Regions from separate parts of the Homo sapiens genome. Here regions 1, 3 and 4 are each linked to region 2. The links are contacts of gene promoters, found by promoter capture Hi-C in blood cells and fetal thymus (Javierre and others, 2016). All regions are on one chromosome and are shown on one strand. The core of a region is centred on a gene start or on the middle of the fragment in contact, and the rest is flanking DNA. Distances in the headings are between cores, read along the strand shown.

Region 1 (2,700 bases), core at 139-2,638, 8.4 Mb after region 2:
TCTATGGTTCCATCCCCACCGTCCGCGTGAACGCTTCTGGAGCCCCCCTTGGGGAAAGTGGGGTTCGAGGGAGGATAGTGTCACTGAAAAGCTCAACACACGTTTTTCTTGGCGAACAGTTTGGAGAGGGCACAAAGTCCACCCCGGAGCCGCGTCCACTGGGCCCCGCGCCACCCTGCCCGCCCCCGCCGCTGCGTCCACGGCTCGGGTTCCCACGCGGCCGCCCGGCCGGGCCCGGCTCAGGCACCCCCCTGGCGCGGCCCCGCGGCCCCGGCCCTCCGCCCAGCGCGCGGCCCGGCAGCGCCGCCGCCGCCGCCGCCGCCGCCACCGCCACGCGGAGATCCCGGAGGTTCCTCCCCGCCGGCCGCCGGGTCACGCCGCTCGTCCCTCCCCTCGGCCCTCCGCCCTCCGCCCTCCGCGCGCGCTGGGCTTTCCCATCCACCGGCCGAATCCCCTCCTCCTCTGGGCAACCCGGCGACAAAACCTTCCCCGCACGCCCTGCCAACTCTGCCCCACGCCCAGGCTCTTCCCAAGCCAGGCGCCAGACAAAAGAACCGAGAGAAAAACTTACCCGAACTGCAACACAAAAGTCTGATCCAAAGCTTCCTGGGTTTAACTTTTAATTTTAAAAACAAAAAAGCAGAAACCAAAAGCCTCCTAGGTTGGAAGTGGGCGTGAGAGGAAATGCTAGAGGGAGGCGCTTCATTCCCCGGGCTGCCTGTGCCCCCCTTTCTGGCCCCTGCCCGGGGCTTTGATGTTATCTAGTGCACCGCCTCCATCGGTTTCTACCTTGGGCTCTGCGCCGCCGAGAAGATAGACAGATCTTCCGCACTTCACTTGCAGGTTCTGAGAGAGGCAAGCAGGTAGTCGCGGGAAAGGACCCACACTCCTTAGCCCCGCAGTGAGAGAGGAACATTTGCACGGGCTTCCTGTTGCTACCTGGACTGAAATGAACAATCCACCCCTCTAGTGATCCTGGAGACTTGCACCGTATGGTCTTTCCTGCTAGACGCACAGCGGGAGGCCTCCTACATTAGATTCATTTTCCCTCCACCCGTAGCACAAACTTGTAAGATGGTGGTGGAGTATGTTTCCTGAGGCTTTGTTCGGGTTTTAGATCTCAGTTTGGAAGGTAAATATTATTTCCCTTCTGAGACAGTCCTGCAGCCTTGAAAAGACAAGAATAAAAATCTAAAGGCAACAAATTCTATAACATGCTTTCCATACACCATAAATTCCCTTATGGGTCAAAATATCCGCACACTTTCCCCTCACGTTATGAAAAGCTTGTAACTGTTGATTTTCTTTTGTCTGGACACTAGCAGACACTGGATATAGTTTTTCATTAGGTTAGCAGTCTCGGGACCATCACTAACAAAACACTACAACAAAGAATTTTTTTTTTTTTAACAGATTACTAATAAAGAAGGACGGCAGTGTCTAGCAATCAGCCTTACCTGTGCCTCCACTTTACACCAACAGAAGCTTGTGTTCAGGCCTTGCCCTCTGGAAGATTACAAATTAATGGAGACAGGATAAACACATGGAAAAATACCTAGAGGGAAAAAAAGATATAAGAGGCTTATAAACAGAGCCAATTAAAGTTATACAGTTATTTACATGATCGCTGAGAGGCTTCTGCTTGAGTAGAGGACGGGGTGAGCAGAGTCCCATCCTGGGGGTGAGTTCTCAGTGGGATATTGAAGGAGAGAAAGTTCACGATTTGGCAGTGGTGGAAGTACAGCATTCTAGAGGAGGGAAATAACTTGAAGGTGAGAGCAAGTGAACTGTGTGTGATGGTTTTTCCACCGAGAGCAGAAAGTCTAAGCAAATGGGAAACAAGTAACACCCATGCCAGGACACTTGAGAGTGAAAGGGAAGGTATTAATAATTATACTCAGGGCCGGGCGCAGTGGCTCACGCTTGTAATCCCAGCACTGTGGGAGGCCGAGGGGGGCGGATCACAAGGTCAGGAGATCGAGACCATCCTGGCTAACACAGTGAAACCCTGTCTCTACTAAAAATAGAAAAATTAATTGGGCGTGGTGACGGGCGCCTGTATTCCCAGCTATTCGGGGGGCTGAGGCAGGAGAATGGCGTGAACCAGGGAGGCGGAGCTTGCAGTGAGCCAAGATCACGCCACTGCACTCCAGCCTGGGCCACAGAGCGAGACTCCGTCTCAAAAAAAAAATCATGCTCAGATGAGAGATGTACACCTGGATTGCCCCGGGGCCATTGGGAAGGGTGGGTTCTCTCGTAATGAGCTAGGAAGACAGAATGGGCAGGCAACAGGCAACCAGAGAAGAGCCTACTCAGTCATCATTTGGAAGGAATTAAGACATGATATTACAAACAGTTGGTAGCTATTTGGAGACATCTGGCCTGAGAATGGTCTTTTTAAGGAAAGTTATTGTTACTGATGGATTTAGGATCGATATGGAGGCTGGTTACAAAAACTGCAGTAACATTAGCAGTTGTAATAATGGTAGTGGTAGTGATTAACAGCTATTGAGCGCTTACGACTTGCCGGGTTTTCCTATATAAACTCATTTAGTCCCCGCCATAAACCCACACTGTAGATGAAGAAACAGAGGCTTAGAAATGCTACATAGTCTTCCGGAAGCTACAGAGCTGGTAAATGATAGAACTATGATGGGGATCCAGAAAATATTCAGATGCTCAAAGTTTAAAGATTATATT
Region 2 (2,717 bases), core at 38-2,537:
TGTGTCAAGCGCAGCCCCGCCGATCCCCTGCGCTCCGAGCACGCCGCAGGGACCCCCGGCCGCCAACGAGCCTCCAAGGCCGACTGGGGGCTAGCACCCCAACAGTCCCCCGGTTTCAACCCCTCAGAGCCCCCCACACCCCAGTTCACTACTCCCTCCCCCACCCCCTTCTCCATCCGGGGCGTGACCCCTTCCTACGCCCGAGAAAGAGGAAGCTTCGAGTTGGAGGGGAAGGGAGAGTGGGGGTAGGGAAAAGTGCAGGAAAAGAAGGGGGGGCCGCGAAAAGTTTTGGAGTGTTTGATGTGGTTCGCGCCAAGGCAATCCCCGCCGCCCCGCGCGCCTGGCCGAGCCCCCCGACCCTCCTGGCGCCGGGAAGAGCACTCAGGTCTAACAATGAACCCTCGTTGGAGGGGCAGCCCCCGAGGCCCACGATGCTCGGCCCAGTGCTCTCCCCGAGCGGCCCGCAGCGCGCCCACGACCCCGCGCGGTGCGAGCCCACCTCCCGCCGGGGCTGGGGACGGTGGGGAGGGAGGGTATTACCGGAGGGCCGCCGCCGCCGCCGCTGCCGCCGCGTCCCAGCGCTGGTGGCTGCTGCAGCAGCCCGGCTCTGCTGGAGGGTCCGTGCGGCGTGGTGTAGAGGAGGCTGCCGGCGGTCTGCTCCGCGCCGGGGGCACTGGGGAGGAGGGGGCCGGCGGCTACGGCGCCGCTTTGGAGGGAGGAGGAACAGGAGGTGGTGGAAGTGTTCGTGGTGAGGATCTGGATGTACGCGCCCGGGGCGGCGGCAGCGGCGGCGGCGGCGGCGAAGCCGGGGCTGGCTAGCAGTGCCCTTTTGTCCATGGAGGCTGCAGCGGCGGCGGCGACGACAGCCGCCCCCTCCCCACCCCCGGCGGTCACCAGGTACTGCTCCAGAGCGGGCTGGATTCCCTTTCTCATCTCTCGCTCCTGCTCTTTTTAGTGTTATGGTATATTAATGTATTGTTTTCAATTTCTTTATTATTTGCAGTCGGAGTTTCCAAGTCTCTCCTCCTTCTCTCCTCCCCGCCCGGCGCTTCCGAGCCCCCTCTCTCTCTTTTCTTTTTATTTTTCCGCACCGCACAGGCCCCGGGGGCCAAAAATAATCGGGGCTCTGGAGAGAGGAGGGTCCCGGCCGCACGGATATCGGGCCCCAAGCGGGGATGGAGGCGTCGGGGGCGGCCGATGCAACGGATTGCGAGGCGGCGGCGGCAGCCCGGGTGCTGCGGCCGGCAGCTGAAAAATGGCTCCAGGAAGCTGCTGCTGACAATGAATGAAGGGATACGGTTTACGCGCCAAGGTCCTCCCGCGAAACTCGGATTTCCCGCCGGCTTTTCAAACCATATTTGCATATCCCCGCCCCTCAACCCGCCGAGGACCGTTCCCACAGCCCATTGGGCCGCTACCTCCTTACTTCAGTCCCAATCATGGAGCAGGGCCGCGACTTGCTGGTTTCCATTGGCTGCCGTGCATCATGGTTACCGGGGCGACAGGGACCCTATTTGCATAGGCCTCCTTGATTGGCTGGCAGAAGAGCAGTTTTTAGGGGGTGGGGCAAAGAATTTCCTTCTCTCCCACGGAAGACCACGCCTGGCCTAGGCTCCGCCCCTGTCCCCGCCCGCCCGCCGGGCCGGCGCTACTGACCTGGGCAGGGACTCCGCGCCCCGCAGACTCAGTGTAGATCTAGTCTAGAGCCCAAGTTTCGCTTTTGGAAATTGTCAAGGTGACTAAGGGAACACTCTTTCCTTTGACCAGTCAGTGCAATAAACGAACAGCGCAGGAGATTTTTCCAGATACGTGCCAAAGGCAAGTTGGACCATGCGGACGATGTCTGGCAGGTGCAAAAGGAGCCCTTTAAATCGTGGGCTTCTCCCTTCCTGAAATCCAACCAATGACGCGGCGAGAGCTGATCCCGAGGCCGGGGCTGATAGACAGAAGCATGTGGGCAGACAGAATCGTGGGGGCAGAAGGTTCAGCAGACGCGATTGCGGGCACCAGTTAACATTCCAGATCATTCCCGGTACCTTCATTATTAGCCTGGATAGGGGTAAAGTACAAATTAACTCTTTTGTCTTACAACGGATATTGGTTTGAATCCAGCAGACATTCCCTCTGGCCCAGAAACACCCAGGGCAGTTAATCAGGGCTAACCTAGAACTGATCTACGGGTTTCTAATCCGCCAAGCAGTAATCCGAAAAAGTACACGCTTCCCACGATGACGTCGTGCCCCCAACGAACGCAGGCACGCCCAGGCATCAGCACTTTATATCTTCAGTTTTGTAGGAAGTTCTCTGACTGGAAGCAAACACAACGACTCAAACCTATCCCAAAGTATTTTTAAAATAGTGTCTTTTTTTAAAAAGTAAACTAGAAATTGTCATCAGAAAAATATAAAATGATGTGTCAAACTGACTCCTGAATTTGTTCAAGTATTCATGGGTCTTAAAATTAAAGCTTGCTCCTGAGATTGAGCAGGAAAAGAGACCCCTGCAGGAATGTGGGGGAAGTTATGTATGTAGAGACTAGATCATAATTTATAGTTACGTGCAAAACAGCTGCAGAATTGGTGCTCATAGGTGATGAGGATTGCAACACCTTGAGCCCTTTCACAAGATTTTTATTACTATTATTAATTTCCCAAAACTCTTACTCAGAGTGCTATGAAACACCTGACAAGATGTGTCAGATCAGGCTAGGACTCCTT
Region 3 (2,700 bases), core at 178-2,677, 6.7 Mb after region 2:
TACAAAAATTAGCTGGGTGTGAGCACATGCCTGTAGTCCCAGCTACTTGGGAGGCTGAGGCAGGAGAATCGCTTGAACCCGGGAGGCGGAAGTTGTAGTGAGCTGAGACCACACAACTGCACTCCAGCCTGGGCGACAAAACAATAATAATAATAATAATAAAAGTACAACAGAACATCTAGTTGTCTGGGTAACTGAGGGAGAAATTAGGCCGAATGACTCTGTTATTTGTTCTGGCCAGATAATCTTGGCCTTAAATTAAATCACCTTTGGCCTACCTTCTTCAAAACGAAATAATTTTCTCTTCGGCAAAACATTTCTTATTTGACCAAATGATTACCATCATATCTTTGGAAGCAAACAAAATATCAGAATTTACATCACACAATTTACATATGCAAAGCCTGATTTTGCCAGCTAGGGAGGGATAAGCTAAACAAAGGGAAGTGGTGAAAACAAAGTAGTAATGTTATGATGGGTCAGAGAGCAACACTTGGCAAGTTGTGCCAAATTAGTCGACGAAGCATTCTATTGGGAATTGCAAAGTAGGAAGTCCTATTTTTGACTCTGCTGATCTCGGTAAATATTTCCTTGTTTTAAAAATGGGCATAATTTTCTGTTACCTAAGAACCCTGTTATGAAAATTAACGAGTCTATAAAATGTTCTGACGTCTCTAGAAGCCCTTCCTAAACACACACTATAATCTTGTATTCATACAGTGCCTGCTCCTGCTTTTTGAAGATATGCCGGTCTTTATTAATGACATCTTCTACCACTGTTAAGTTCACTGTGAGTCCTCGTAAAATTAATTAATGAAACAGTCACTATTCTAAGTGGGAGACTGCCTTCAGAAGTGGTTTCTACTGCCCATATGGTCAATGCTACGGAATTAAACACTGAAGTACCAAAGGCAATGCGTTCCTCTTTGGAGGGAGGCGGCAAACGGGAACGGGACTGAGGCGAGAGCTAGCAGCACTGCGCGGGGAGCCTGAGCCGCTCCGCACGCCCCGGGCCGACGGGTCCTAGAGCGCCCCGGGGCCTGGGCTCGCGGCGGCCCCAGCGGGGCTCGATTACTCTCGCCTGGACGAGAAGCGGCGCCTCGGCTCCGAGGAGCCCTACGGTGGGGAGGTGGGGCGACGACAACAAAAAGAAGTCAAGTGGGAGGGGATTCGCCGGCGAGGGGGGCGACGGCGGCCGCCAAGGGAGAGGAGGCGGACACCTCCGAAGGGACCTGCGGCGCCGGGAGCCCAGCGATCCTGCCCACGAGCGACTGGCGGGCCCGGGAGGACGCCTCGCGGCGCACAGCCGGGAGCCCCGCGGCCCGCCCCCTCGCACCGCTCGCGCCTCTCTCGCGCCTCCGTCCCGCCCCCTCGCCTAGCGCCGCCCGCGCGCAGCGTCTCGCGCCGGCCCGGCCCGCCCGCCGGGAAACAGCCGCGAGAGCAGCGGCCGCGGCGGCCGCCAGCGCGCCTTCCCCTCCCGCGCTCCCGCGTCGCCCCCGCCCTCGGCGCCTCGTCCCCGGGCCGCGCGCCCGCGCTCCGGCCAACGTTCTCTCCCGGCCTCCCGGGCCCGCCGCCTACTCCCGCGTCTCCGAGCTCCTCAACCGCCGCGGTCTCCCTGGGCGCGCGGCCCGCCGCCTGCTTCCGGGGCGGGCGGACTGGGCGCCTGGTGCCGGCGGCCGCAGCGACAGCGCCCCCGGGAAGCAGAGGAGGAAGGAGAGAAGAGGTGGAGGTGGCCGCAGGCTGAGTCGCGGCCGGGATGTCCGGGCAGCCGCCGCCGCCGCCGCCGCAGCAGCAGCAACAGCAGCAGCAGCTGTCGCCGCCACCGCCGGCGGCCTTGGCCCCAGTCTCCGGAGTCGTCCTGCCGGCGCCCCCGGCCGTCAGCGCCGGCTCTTCTCCGGCCGGCTCGCCCGGCGGCGGTGCGGGCGGCGAAGGCTTAGGGGCCGCGGCGGCCGCCCTGCTCCTCCACCCTCCGCCGCCGCCGCCCCCGGCCACCGCGGCCCCGCCGCCCCCGCCGCCGCCCCCGCCTCCCCCTGCCTCAGCGGCTGCCCCCGCCAGCGGGCCGCCCGCTCCCCCGGGCCTTGCAGCGGGCCCCGGCCCGGCTGGAGGAGCCCCGACCCCAGCTCTGGTGGCGGGCAGCAGCGCCGCGGCCCCCTTCCCTCACGGGGACTCGGCCCTGAACGAGCAGGAGAAGGAGTTGCAGCGGCGGCTGAAGCGTCTCTACCCGGCCGTGGACGAACAAGAGACGCCGCTGCCTCGGTCCTGGAGCCCGAAGGACAAGTTCAGCTACATCGGCCTCTCTCAGAACAACCTGCGGGTGCACTACAAAGGTACTGGGCGTGTGTCCTGCGGTGGGAGTGGGGCACTGACCCGACGTGGCCGGCCGCCGCTGCGCCGCTCTCGACCCGCCCCCGACCCCCGCCCTCGCGGGCTCTGCCCTCGGAGGCCACTCGCCGCCTGTTGTGCTGCTCCGGGTGGGCGCGGGGGTCGCGGTGAAGGGTCCGAGGGTGAGGGGCGAGATTCTTGGAAAAGGAAGGTGAGTAGAATGCCCCAGGGTAGAAAGGAGCTGGTAATCCTAGACCAGGAGCAGGACACCTTGAGGGAATCCGGGATGACAGGACAGAACTGGCTTTCTGATTTCCCTGGGAGATAAATCTTGGGGCTTGGGTAGAGGAATCCATGGACTCGGAGTTGGGTTACATT
Region 4 (2,700 bases), core at 48-2,547, 5.2 Mb after region 2:
CACAAAACAAATTTAACTATTCCAAGCCATTTAAATCTAGGAATAATCACCCAATTTCAGAAGCCCAGTTAACAGGGAGAAATTATTTGTAGTTACTTACATATGCATTCACGTACACACTTAAAAACATTAGCCATAGTGTGTGTCCTTTTCCCCTACAACTGGAAACCATGAATTTTTTAAACAAAACCAGCCTCATTATTAAAGTCAATCCCAACAAATGCATTCGCTGTAACATGATTCCCAACTGGTTTATGTTGCAAACCAGATAAGCCAAAACGACCACAGACATTAAATTTGATGTGCCAGTGCAAAGAGAAGATCGCCATAATCGGACCCTCGATCGCAACTTAAAGGGCTTCCAACACACATGCGTTACACGATTTTTCCAAATAACATTAATAATAATAACACAGGCTCATTTGCATGCAAAGTGCAATACGGGGCCAAATCCGCTTGAGAATGCAGTTTAGTTACATTACCGCAGCCACCCCCCACCTCAAGCTCCACCAAAATCCCTTGCCTTTCATCTAAAAGTAGATTATGGTTGTGTCATTCGAGGTCAATTTATTCACTTGAGGTATCTCTACACCAGTCTGTTTTTTCAACCAAACTAGGCAGACACCACTTTGCTTGAAAAGCCCTCTTTCAGAAAAAAAAGAAACAGCCTTATCGGACGCTGTGTTTAAAACCCTTCAGAGGCAGAATTATCTATAAACTTGACATTCACAGCCATTGCTTAAAACTGCAAGTCAAAGGATGTGTTGTTAGGAGCACTTACGTATTTCTTCTGAATGATATTCCTCTTGGGTCTTTCCTTGCTCATTCTGAGATCCAAATGCTGATTGCAAAAGGGGACAATTGCTTCATGAATTTAAAGCCGTCAGAAATTTGCAAAAAAATATCCTGGTGGTTTTTATTGTTGTTGGTGGTGGTTGATCTTGTAATCCGACTTTTCTTCCTCTTCCCCCAAAGCCAGATTCGCCTTGAAATAAATCCGAAATTGGGAAGGAAAAAAAAAGAGCCAAAGACGAACGAAGCAAACAAAAAAAAATTCACTTTAGTAAAACACTCATAATGGAAAATTTCCCCCGAAACACATACACACACACACAAAAAAAAACCGACGCCCTTCACTCCCCCCCCTTTTTCCTCCAAAAACTACATCAGCGAAACGTGAAGGTCCTTAGTGTCTGATCCGTAGTTACATCTTGGAAAAGAAAAGGGAAAGATAAATAAAAAATGTTGGAAGTCACGTTTGTGCTGCAGCAGCAGTGCGAGCAGAAGAGTCAACTCCAGCGGCGGCGGCGGCGGCGGCGGCAGCACCACAGCGAGGGCTCGCCGAGTCTCTTTTTTCCAAGCCCCCTAACCAATGAGAGAGAGGCTATCCAGCCCAACTTTAAATGGACTCTGCTTTTATACAAGTTAGGGCTCCTCGGATAATTCCCCGCCGGGCGCCAGCCGAAAACTCCCACCGCTCAGCCGCCAGGCGCCCGCTTAGCCTGGTGCCGACCGCCCCTGGCCCAGTCCAGGGCACCCCCGCAGCCTGGCCAACCAGACACCCGAGCGACCTCGACGAACCCCTCCCAGGCAAGCCCTCGGGCGTCGCTCCCACGCCGAGCCCAGGCGTGGAATTGAGAGAGGCTCCCTAGCTCAATGCATGGCACGCTCCGTCGCTCCACCTCACCCCCTTTCCCCTGCCTGCCGCTCACCCCACGGCCGCCCCACGCCAGCCCCCGCCACTGCCTTCGCGTCTACCTGCAGCCGGGCTGCTGGGTAGGAGTGCCCCAGGACGCCCGGCCCCGGGGAGAGCCGCCTATTCCCGGGGCACCTTAGAATGGTCCCCTTGATCTTCTGGAAGTTGTAGTCCCCCGACTACAAAATGGCTATGGCCACGGAAGCTGGGAACTACAATTCCCAGCCTGCCCCGCAAAGCCTGTCACTCAACTCCCCTCCCTCCTCCTCGCCCCCTCCCCCTCACTGGCCGTGCCAACAAACGCTTGGACGTGTCCCGCGTGCGACACTGCTAGAGGCTGGCTCGGGATTGGCCCGCGGAGCGTGTGGTCCGCGAGCGAGGAACTCCCCACGCCGGCCCTCCTCCGCCCCCCGGGCCCCGGCCCCCCTCCCCTGGCGGCCGCCAGCCCCCTCCCCGCGCGCCCCGCCCCCACCCGCGGCGCGAACCGCCTGTGGAATCGAGGAATCGCGCGCGTGCGGCCCGGAGCCGCGGGGGAGGGACGCGAGGCTTCCCCGGGGAAGGCCTCGGAGCGTGGCGGTGAGGGGGGCGGTGTCAGGGAGGGGTTGGAGCCCGTCCTAAGGAAAACTGGGCCACGCACCAAGAGGAATCCTCGGTGCGAACTAGTTGATCGGCGGCGCCTGCTGCTTGTGCCGTGCAGCCGGTGTCACCTCAGGACAGCGCCTCGCGTCTGTGTACAGAGCGTGCTGCGGGCGCCTAGGGTAGTCCGAGGTCACCCCTCTCCGCGCCCCGCAGTCGCGCACGCCCCCACGCGCGGGGTGGGCGGTGGCCGGGGGTCGCCGAGTGGAAAGGCCACGCCCCCCCACGCCCGGGCTCGGCACGCTGCCCCTGGGTCGCGAACGCGCCTCCGCTCGACCCGCTTGGAGGACGTCGCTGGTGGCCCAGGAGTGAAGCCCCGGCGGCTGCCTCCTGAGAAAAGATAGCCGTGTTTAAAGAGACTGAACGGG

Evidence for each region. The method cuts DNA at HindIII sites, captures the fragments that hold promoters and counts their contacts. A CHiCAGO score of 5 or more calls a contact.
Region 1: a contact is called between a fragment that was not itself captured here and the fragment with the promoter of E2F3 in region 2, in 1 of 17 cell types (non-activated CD4 T cells). The highest score is 5.1, in non-activated CD4 T cells.
Region 3: a contact is called between the fragment with the promoter of RANBP9 here and the fragment with the promoter of E2F3 in region 2, in 1 of 17 cell types (total CD8 T cells). The highest score is 6.8, in total CD8 T cells.
Region 4: the fragment with the promoter of JARID2 here is called in contact with the fragment with the promoter of E2F3 in region 2 in 1 of 17 cell types (naive CD8 T cells); the score reaches 6.8 in naive CD8 T cells.

What each region holds. Positions count from the first base shown.
Region 1 is chr6:12,006,747-12,009,446 of GRCh38, reverse strand. It overlaps a transcript of HIVEP1 not described here. Among named protein-coding and RNA genes, the nearest start is that of HIVEP1, 4.2 kb to the left of the region's middle. RefSeq lists a silencer at 158-277. The HindIII fragment of the contact is 199 bases long and covers 1,289-1,487 here.
Region 2 is chr6:20,400,449-20,403,165 of GRCh38, reverse strand. E2F3 (E2F transcription factor 3) reads right to left here and starts at 1,287. Exons shown (of 7, transcript NM_001949.5): 1 at 541-1,287. The coding sequence starts at 933. It overlaps LOC124901482, which reads left to right and starts at 394. Exons shown (of 3, transcript XM_047419652.1): 1 at 394-741; 2 at 786-897; 3 at 1,004-2,425. The coding sequence starts at 394. The coding sequence ends at 1,611. RefSeq lists silencers at 153-622, 1,473-1,712 and an enhancer at 850-1,374. The HindIII fragment of the contact is 2,252 bases long and covers 218-2,469 here.
Region 3 is chr6:13,710,562-13,713,261 of GRCh38, reverse strand. It overlaps RANBP9 (RAN binding protein 9), which reads left to right and starts at 1,427. Exons shown (of 14, transcript NM_005493.3): 1 at 1,427-2,327. The coding sequence starts at 1,757. It overlaps LOC124901264 (a long non-coding RNA gene), which reads left to right and starts at 508. Exons shown (of 2, transcript XR_007059462.1): 1 at 508-579; 2 at 721-910. RefSeq lists silencers at 923-1,692, 1,853-1,972, 2,053-2,102, 2,363-2,482. The HindIII fragment of the contact is 8,985 bases long and covers 1-2,700 here.
Region 4 is chr6:15,244,666-15,247,365 of GRCh38, reverse strand. It overlaps JARID2 (jumonji and AT-rich interaction domain containing 2), which reads right to left and starts at 1,297. Exons shown (of 18, transcript NM_004973.4): 1 at 782-1,297. The coding sequence starts at 826. It overlaps JARID2-DT (JARID2 divergent transcript), which reads left to right and starts at 1,992. Exons shown (of 1, transcript NR_187237.1): 1 at 1,992-2,700. RefSeq lists enhancers at 1,220-1,319, 1,430-1,479, 2,669-2,700 and silencers at 2,090-2,349, 2,360-2,669. The HindIII fragment of the contact is 5,356 bases long and covers 1-2,700 here.